Regions from separate parts of the Homo sapiens genome. Here regions 1 and 3 are each linked to region 2. The links are contacts of gene promoters, found by promoter capture Hi-C in blood cells and fetal thymus (Javierre and others, 2016). All regions are on one chromosome and are shown on one strand. Each heading gives the region's core, a stretch centred on a gene start or on the middle of the fragment in contact. The rest is flanking DNA. Distances are from core to core; before and after follow the strand shown.

Evidence for each region. The method cuts DNA at HindIII sites, captures the fragments that hold promoters and counts their contacts. A CHiCAGO score of 5 or more calls a contact.
Region 1: a contact is called between a fragment that was not itself captured here and the fragment with the promoter of ZC3H7B in region 2, in 2 of 17 cell types (endothelial precursors and total CD4 T cells). The highest score is 5.6, in endothelial precursors.
Region 3: a contact is called between a fragment that was not itself captured here and the fragment with the promoter of ZC3H7B in region 2, in 1 of 17 cell types (total CD8 T cells). The highest score is 5.3, in total CD8 T cells.

What each region holds. Positions count from the first base shown.
Region 1 is chr22:40,914,734-40,917,433 of GRCh38, reverse strand. The region is part of intron 7 of XPNPEP3 (X-prolyl aminopeptidase 3); the gene reads right to left. LOC124905157 (small nucleolar RNA U13) reads right to left here and starts at 2,555; the gene lies at 2,452-2,555. The HindIII fragment of the contact is 2,530 bases long and covers 109-2,638 here.
Region 2 is chr22:41,300,190-41,302,889 of GRCh38, reverse strand. ZC3H7B (zinc finger CCCH-type containing 7B) reads right to left here and starts at 1,365. Exons shown (of 23, transcript NM_017590.6): 1 at 1,118-1,365. It also overlaps a transcript of RANGAP1 not described here. RefSeq lists silencers at 989-1,058, 1,339-1,678 and an enhancer at 756-1,257. The HindIII fragment of the contact is 7,155 bases long and covers 1-2,700 here.
Region 3 is chr22:40,814,016-40,816,715 of GRCh38, reverse strand. The region is part of intron 1 of SLC25A17 (solute carrier family 25 member 17); the gene reads left to right. Among named protein-coding and RNA genes, the nearest start is that of MIR4766, 1.4 kb to the right of the region's middle. The HindIII fragment of the contact is 625 bases long and covers 955-1,579 here.

The sequences.
Region 1 (2,700 bases), core at 124-2,623, 390 kb after region 2:
TCCCTATTCCTTGTGTTTTTTAAAAATTTTAATTAAATTGTTTCCTTTTTTTACAGATGGGGTCTTGCTCTGTTGCCCAGGCTGGTGTGTACTGGCTATTCACAAGCTTGTTCCCATTACTGATCAGTATGAGAGTTGTGACCTGCTCTGTTTCTGACCTGGGCCAGTTCAGCCCTCCTTAGGTAATGTGCAAAAACCTCTAACTGGTTGCAGACACCTGATCAACATAGTGGACTGCAGCTTAGAACTCTTGGACTCAAGTGATCCTCCTGCCTCAGCCTCCTGAGTAGCTGAGACTATAGGTGCATGCCACTATGCTTGGTCATTGTGGGGTTTTTTTCTTTTTCTTTTTTTTTGCGACAGGGTCTGGCTCTGTCACCCAGGCTGGATTGCAATGGTGCAATCTTGGCTCACTGCAACCTCTGTCTCCTGGGCTCAAGCAATTCTCCCACCTCAGCCTCTTGAGTAGCTGGGACTACAGGCATGTGCCACCACGCCTGGCTAATTTTTTTGTAAAGACCAGGTTTCACTATGCTGCCCATGTTGGTCTTGAACTCCTGAGCTCAAGTGATCCTCCTGTCTTTCCTCCCAGTGTGCTGGGATTACATGAGGCACCTCGCCTGGCTGTCCTTTGTGTTTTAAAGATATTTTTATCACCCAAATATTCACCCCAAGATAATTTTCTTTGTGTTCATTTGTAATATATTTGATATAACTAAAATCTCTTTTAGTTAGTAGGCTCCTCCTCCACCTCTTTTCATTTCCTTGTAATTTATTTGTTAAAGAATCCAGGCTGCTTGACATACAGAGTTTATCAGTCTAGATTTTGGGCAGTTACAGACTGAATGTTTGTGAATTAGGAGGTAATTATTTTGAGGTAACAAATACTACCTAGTGTTTGGTTTTGTTAGCTAGTTGCTCTATGTTTATTTGACAATTTGGAAAGTTTGAAAAACTATCCTGCTGCTGCCATCTTCCCACAATCTCTGGTTCTTTTTTGTTTCTATTTCTCATTGAGATTCTCCATCTGTTTGCTCATTATGTCTACATCTTCCTTTAACTTATCTATAACAGCTACTTTAGAGTCTTTCTGCTAATTGGAACATTAGGATCATTTCTTTCTTTTTTTTTTTCCTTTGTTTGAGATGGAGTCTCACTCTGTCGCCCAAGCTGGAGTGCAGTGGTACAATCTCGGCTCACTGCAACCTCCCCTTTCCCGGTTCAAGCGATATTCCTGCCTCAGCCTCCCGAGTAGCTGGGATTACAGGTGCCCGCCACCACACTCAGCTAATTTTTGTATTTTTAGTAGAGACAGGGTTTCACATTTTGGCCAGGCTGGTCTTGAACTCCTGACTTCAAGTAATCTGCCCACCTCGGCCCCCCAAAGTGCTAGAATTACAGGCATGAGCCACTGCACCTGGCCAGGATTATTTCATTATCAGATTTTCTTGATTACAGGTCACAATTACCAGTTTCTTCTCATGTCTAGAAATTTTGTTAACTTGGATAGCTTCAAACTACAAACTCTGTTCTCACTGGGAAGCAACTAAAATCTCTGCTCAGTTTATTCTGCTTCTAGCTGCTCGTATTTTGCTGAGCCTCATGAGGCCTCCTCAGAACACATAGTTCAGTAATCAGCCAAGGATTTTTAAATATTCTGTATGCAGATTTTGGGGCTCAGAGTTTCCACAAGCCCTTCTCGTCAAGGATTTTCCTTCATCTTTCTGGCTATTCTGTCAGCACCTAAATCTATCATTTGATATCTTAAATCAATAAGGCTGTGGCTTTCTGCCGCCCAAGCTATGTGCATTGGGCAATGTCCTCAGGCAAAAAGCCCTTATCACCATTTTTATCCATTATAGTTTTTCTTTTTTTTTTTTTTCAGATAGAGTCTCACTCTGTCACCCAGGCTGGAGTGCAGAGTCCAATCTTAGCTCACTGCAACTTCCGTCCCCTGGGTTCAAGCGATTCTCCTGCCTTAGCCTCCCGAGTACCATTCCCAGGCTAATTTTTGTATTTTTAGTAGAGACAGGGTTTCACCATTTTGGTCAGGCTGGTCCTGAACTCCTGACCTCAGGTGCTCTGCCTGCCTTGGGCTCCCAAAGTCCTGGGATTACAGGTATGAGCCACCAGGCCTGGCCCATTATAGTTTTTTAAGAATGGACTTGTACTTGGCTAACACGGTGAAATCCCATCTCTACGAAAAATACAAAAAATTAGCCAGGCGTGGTGGTGGGTGCCTGTAGTCCCGCTACTCGGGAGGCTGAAGCAGGAGAATGATGTGAACCTGGGAGGTGGAGCTAGCAGTGAGCCGAGATCATGCCACTGCACTCCAGCCTGGGTGCCAGAGCGAGACTCCGTCTCAAAAAAAAAAAAAAAAAAAGAATGGACTTGTACAATTTCTGCCTATTTTTGAAAGCTCTCTGGTGCCTTTTATTTTGATTTTTTTCATGTCAGATGGGTAATGTGCTGACCTTGTAAGAAGGTTTGAGGGTAGCACATCTCATACCTGCACGTGAACACCCAATCATCACACTCATGAGCTACAAAGGGATCTCTAGTGCCTTTAAATAGTTATTTTTAATATTTTGTCCAGATTTTATAATTATTATCTATGGAGGATTAATCCAATCAAGCTTTCTACCATAACCTGAATATTACTTCTGTATTTTAAAAAATCAACTTTATTTTTTAAAAAAT
Region 2 (2,700 bases), core at 116-2,615:
AACCGCTGATCACCAGCTCCCCACTCAGGCCCAGCCCCCTTTTAGAGCCCCCAGACTCCCCACGCAGGGCCCTAGCCCCCTAGTCTTCCCCGTCAATGCCCTGTTGGCAATACAGCCATCAGGTTCTATCAGAGTGAGCTGTTTTTATATGATTATTTTCCCCCCTGGGAAGACGGCTTTGTCTGTGAAAGTCCCCCCAACCAGGCGCCTTATAAACGCCTAAAACAGACAGAGTTGAGGAGAAAGGAGGGGAAAGGAGGAGGGAGCAAACCCGGAGGGGGGCCCTGAGGTTCGCAGCGGGCAGGATGGGGGTATGAGGCCGGAGTCGGCGGCTCCCAGGCCCCCAGCCCCGTCAGGGCGCCCCCGTCCCCAGGCGCCAGAGCCGGGGTCCGCAGCCCCCTAGCACTCCCTGGACGGCCGCGGGCCTCCCACAGGCCTCGAAGTCCAGAGACTGATCCTGCGACCGGAAACGCCCCCCTGCCCAGCAGGCCCAGACCGCGCCCCCCTTTCCTGCCGCCCCCTTCCCGCGGGCCCGGCTGCAGGCCCCGGATCCCCGGGCTCGCGTGGCCGCCGCAGCCGAAAGGGGCGGCCCGTCGGGCGGCCCCGCTCCCCGGCCCTCGCCGCGGCCCCTCCAACTCCGGGTGCTGCGGGGCCAAGGACAACACAAAAGGAAGGGGGGCCCTGCCAGCGACGCCCCTGCCAGCCCCCGAGACCCCCTGCGCGGGGTCGGCAAAGCATCTGGACACCCCAGAAGCTCCGGACGCCGAAGAGAGAGGCCCCACGAAAATTTCAAGACACCTCCTGGGGGCTGCAGGGGCGGCCAAGTCTCCCCAGCGCCAGGTGCCCCCGGCCACACGGTAACTTTTAAACTTTGGGGCAGGGCACGGGGACCGGGATCCCCAAAAAGGAGCAAATGGGGTTTTAGAGACGATTTATTTTTTGCAAAATCCCACTTTCCAGGTGGCCCGGCGCGCGGCCCCGGCCTGGAAAGGGCTCTCTTCGCCTCTTCCCCAGCCCTGCCCGGCCCGGGCGTCCCCGAACCCTCGCGCGCGGGCGGCTCCGGACGCAGTGTCCCCGGCCTCTGCCCCGCGGGGCTCGGGCCGCGCCAAGCACTCACCTCCGCCGGGCTGCGCTCCCCGCGGGCCTGCGCCGAGCCCGATAAATGGTATGCTATGACTAGAGGTATGATTACGTTATTATTATTAGTAATAATAAGAGTAAATGCTATTTAATTACGGGCGGCCGCATCCTGCTCCCGGCGCCGCCGCCCCGGCAGCTCCGTCCATGTGGCTCTGGAGCGCTTTACTTTCATTTCCAGCCCCTCGGCTGGCCGCTCGCGGCAGCACCCGCTGGAGGCACTGTCTCCCTGCAGCTCTTCCTCCTCGGGTCCTAGAGAGCTCGGCTCCCGTCGCCTCGCCGCGCCCGGGGTGGGCGGCGCGGGCTGCGCACCTGGGGAGAAGGGCGGGGGGCGTGGGGGCGAGTCGGGGAAGCCCCATTCCCCGTCGAAAGCTCATGCCTGGAATTCACCTTTATTTTCTTTAAAAGTGTCCTGCCTTTTAGGGGGGTTTCTTTTGGCAGTTCTGCATTTCTGGGCTGATGCTGCTCAAACCCAGCGCCTCCGCCCTTCCCCATCTGTGTCAAAAGTCCCCCCGCCCCCCTTCTCCGGCTTCCAGGTGCTTTCATGGAAGGCTGCCCAAAACCCTGGTTGCGTTGTGCCCTTCTCATAGATGGGAACCGGAGACACATAGAAGAATCAGGACCTCACTTGGCTGGAGTTTTATGTATAGGATGTTAAAAAAAATATTGAATGACACTTGTTAAAGACTACAAGGCCGACTTTATTGGCATCATGATGGGTGTAGGGACCACTGCAGTGGGTTTTGCGGTCAGGGAGAGTATTTGGGCTCAATTCAGAAATCAGCATGGGCAACTGGGAATTTATGAGGAAGGAGAAAGGATCCACTGATTGAGCGCCAGTGCATAGGAAACTGCATCAGAGATGAGAGGATTCTCGCTTAAACCCATCTAACAAGATTCTTGCTGAAGGCAGGGCAAGGTGATCAGACATCACCTGGGGAATGGTGGAAAATGAGGAACCTGATTAGATATTGACAATCAGGGCTGGGTGCAGTGGCTCACGCCTGTAATCTCAGCACTTTGGGAGGCCAAGACGGGTGGATCACCTGAGGTCAGGAGTTCAAGACCAGACTAGCCAACGTGGTGAAACCCCATCTCTACAAAAATACAAAAATTAGCCAGGCGTGGTGGTGGGTGCCTGTAATCCCAGCTACTCAGGAGGCTGAGGCAGGAGAATCACTTGAACCCCAGAGGTGGAGGTTGCAGTGAGCCAAGATCATGCCATTGCACTCCAGCCTGGGCAACAAGAGCAAAACTGTCTCCAGAAATATATGTGTGTGTGTGTGTGTGTGTGTGTGTGTGTGTGTGTGTGTGTGTGTGTGTGAGTTCCCAATACCCCCTAGGCAATTTACAATGAAACACCCTTGACAACTTATCACATTTACCACCATGGTTATTATCACTCTCATTTCATCGATGAGGATGCTGAGGCCAGTTGGATTGCTGCATTTTGCCTCAAGTGAACTAGATGGCAAATGGTCTGGTGATTCCACCACCCCAGGTTGCTGGTGAAATAATGAACACATATTCTTGAAGAGGACTGTCCATCATTCAAGGGGGATT
Region 3 (2,700 bases), core at 18-2,517, 490 kb after region 2:
TCACTTGAACCTGGGAGGCAGAGGTTGCAGTGAGCCAAAATTGTGCCATTGCACTCCAGCCTGGGTGACAAGAGCAAGACTCCGTCTCAAGAAAAAAAAAAAAAAACAATAAAAAATAAATGAATAAATAAAAAATAAGTAGAATAATTTTAGATACAGTTAAGTGCTATAAAAGAACATAGAGATTGGCAAACTTTTTAAAGAGAGCAGATGGGAAATATTTTAGGCTTTGTGTACCGTTGTCACAGCTACCCAACATTGCCATGGTCGTGTGAAATCAGCTGTAGACAGTAAATGAATGGACAGAGCTGTGTTCCAATAAAATACTGTTTTCAAAAACAGATATTAGATTGGATTTGGCCCATAGGCCATAGTTTTCTGACTCCTGCTATAGAGAGAGTGACTGGCAATAGTGGTAATATATTTCTATTTAATCTACAAAGATACTTCTTTTTTTCACTTGTTGCCTATTTTTCTCTTTTTTTCTTTTTCTTTCTTTCTTTCTTTTTTTTTTTTTGAGATGGAGTTTCGCTCTTGTTGCCCAGGCTGGAGTGCATGGAGTGCAGTGATGCAATCTCGGCCCACCACAACCTCCGCCTCCTGGGTTCAAGCGATTCTCCTGCCTCAGCCTCTCGCCGAGTGGCTGGGTTTACAGGCATGTGCCACCACGCCTGGCTAATTTTGTATTTTCAGTAGAGACGGGGTTTCTCCATGTTGGTCAGCCTGGTCTTGAGCTCCCGCCCTCAGGTGATCCGCCTGCCTTGGCCTCCCAAAGTGCTGGGATTACAGGCGTGAGCCACTGCGCCTGGCCTGGAATTACTTTTCTAACTTTGTTTATGCCTGAATCAAAAACGATTAATGAAATTATATCGTCATACATAGTATTGTATAACTTAATTTTTTAAGAAGCAAATATGGCATAATAGCTGAAAAAAAAGGTTCTGTAGTAAAGCTTAACTATGAATGCCATCATCAATCGAACTATAAAACAGGGACAATAACAATGCCTCACTTAACTGGGTTCTTGTGGGAAGTAAATGTGATTATATTTGTGGAGCATCTAGCATAATGGAACGTTGTAGTAAGACCATAATTATTCATTTCTGTCTCAAGTATATTCTTGCAAATACAGCACTTATACCTAGTTTTAGAAATTTAAGGGAATTGAAATGTTCTCTTGCCTCATGGCCATCTCCACCCATTCCCTTCACTTGTTGCAGATGATCTTACCTTTTACTCTCTAGATAAAATAGAACCTACTTGGGATGAGTTTTTTCAGTTTTTTCCAATTACAGTTGTACTCGTGTTTTCTACATTCTGCTGGTCTCAGAGGAAAAATAGACATATTCAGTGTCTGCTACCTTCAATCTTTGTCCTCCCCTCCAGCCCATGGCCAGTTTTCTTCCAGGACTTTGCTCCAGTAATTTTCATCTCTTTCCTATAGCTTTAACCTAGTATCTGCTTCTGTTCAGCCCTCAAACATGGTCAGGTCTGTCCCATCAGAAAACTATACCAATCTGATCTGGAATCTGGTAGCTTCTTCAGCCTCTGCCTGTTCTCTTTCCCTTTGTGCTAAGCTTATTTAAAGAATATTCTGGGCCGGGTGTGGTGGCTCACACCTGTAATCCCAGCACTTTGGGAGGCTGAGGCGGGCAGATCACGAGGTCAGGAGATCGAGACCATCCTGACTAACACGGTGAAACCCCATCTCTACTAAAAATACAAAATATTAGCCGGGCATGGAGGCAGGCGCCTGTAGTCCCAGCTACTCGGGAGGCTGAGGCAGGAGAACGGCATGAACCCGGGAGGTGGAGCTTGCAGTGAGCCAAGATTGCGCCACTGCACTCCAGCCTGGACGACAGAGCAAGACTCCGTCTCAAAAACAAAAAAAACCAAAACAAAACAAAACAACAACAACAACAACAATATATATATATATATATATATATATATATATATATTCTGCACGTACTGCCTTTCCTCATCCTACTTTGACCACTGGAACTGTTCTTCCAAAGGTCAACTCTGACTTCCTAACAGCTTAATCTACTATTGTGAATGGTTTAAGGTCATGGATAACCAGGTACACACACATTTGTGTCTTTTCACAATGTCAGACTTTTATTGTGTTATTTCAGTTATAAAAGACAAGTTACATGGAGTTCTCAAGGAGGCAATTTTTATTAGTACTTCTCATTCACTAGGTAGTCAGTCAATATTGTAAATCATATATAATAGTATACCTAATTAATACATAAATGATGTAGATTAAACATTCTGCAACAAAGTAACATTGAACATCAAGAGAAAAGGGTGAGGAAAAAGGGTTACCTAACCAGTCCGGGGAGAGTGATATAGACAAGTATCCTGGTTTCATCATGGCAGTGTGTTGGTCTTGTAAGAAAGAATCCTTGATGTGGGCAGAGCCTTTGGACACAGATATCAGGCTTTTATAACAAGTGACAGCAAGACAGTGTCTGTTAAGACCATTTTGAGTTTTTTAAGTCCTGTTCTTTTTATGGTCACAGAGTCTTCTGGTAAGGACTGATAGTGGAAGAGCATGCTTGGTTGTGTCTTTATCTGGAAAAACATCTGGTCCCTGTTGTCAAAGTGCTTTTTGAAATGAAAGATAGGAGTCTTTTTCTAAGATGGAGTTACTTATGTCAAGAGTGCTCTATACATCTACTGACTGTTTTTGCA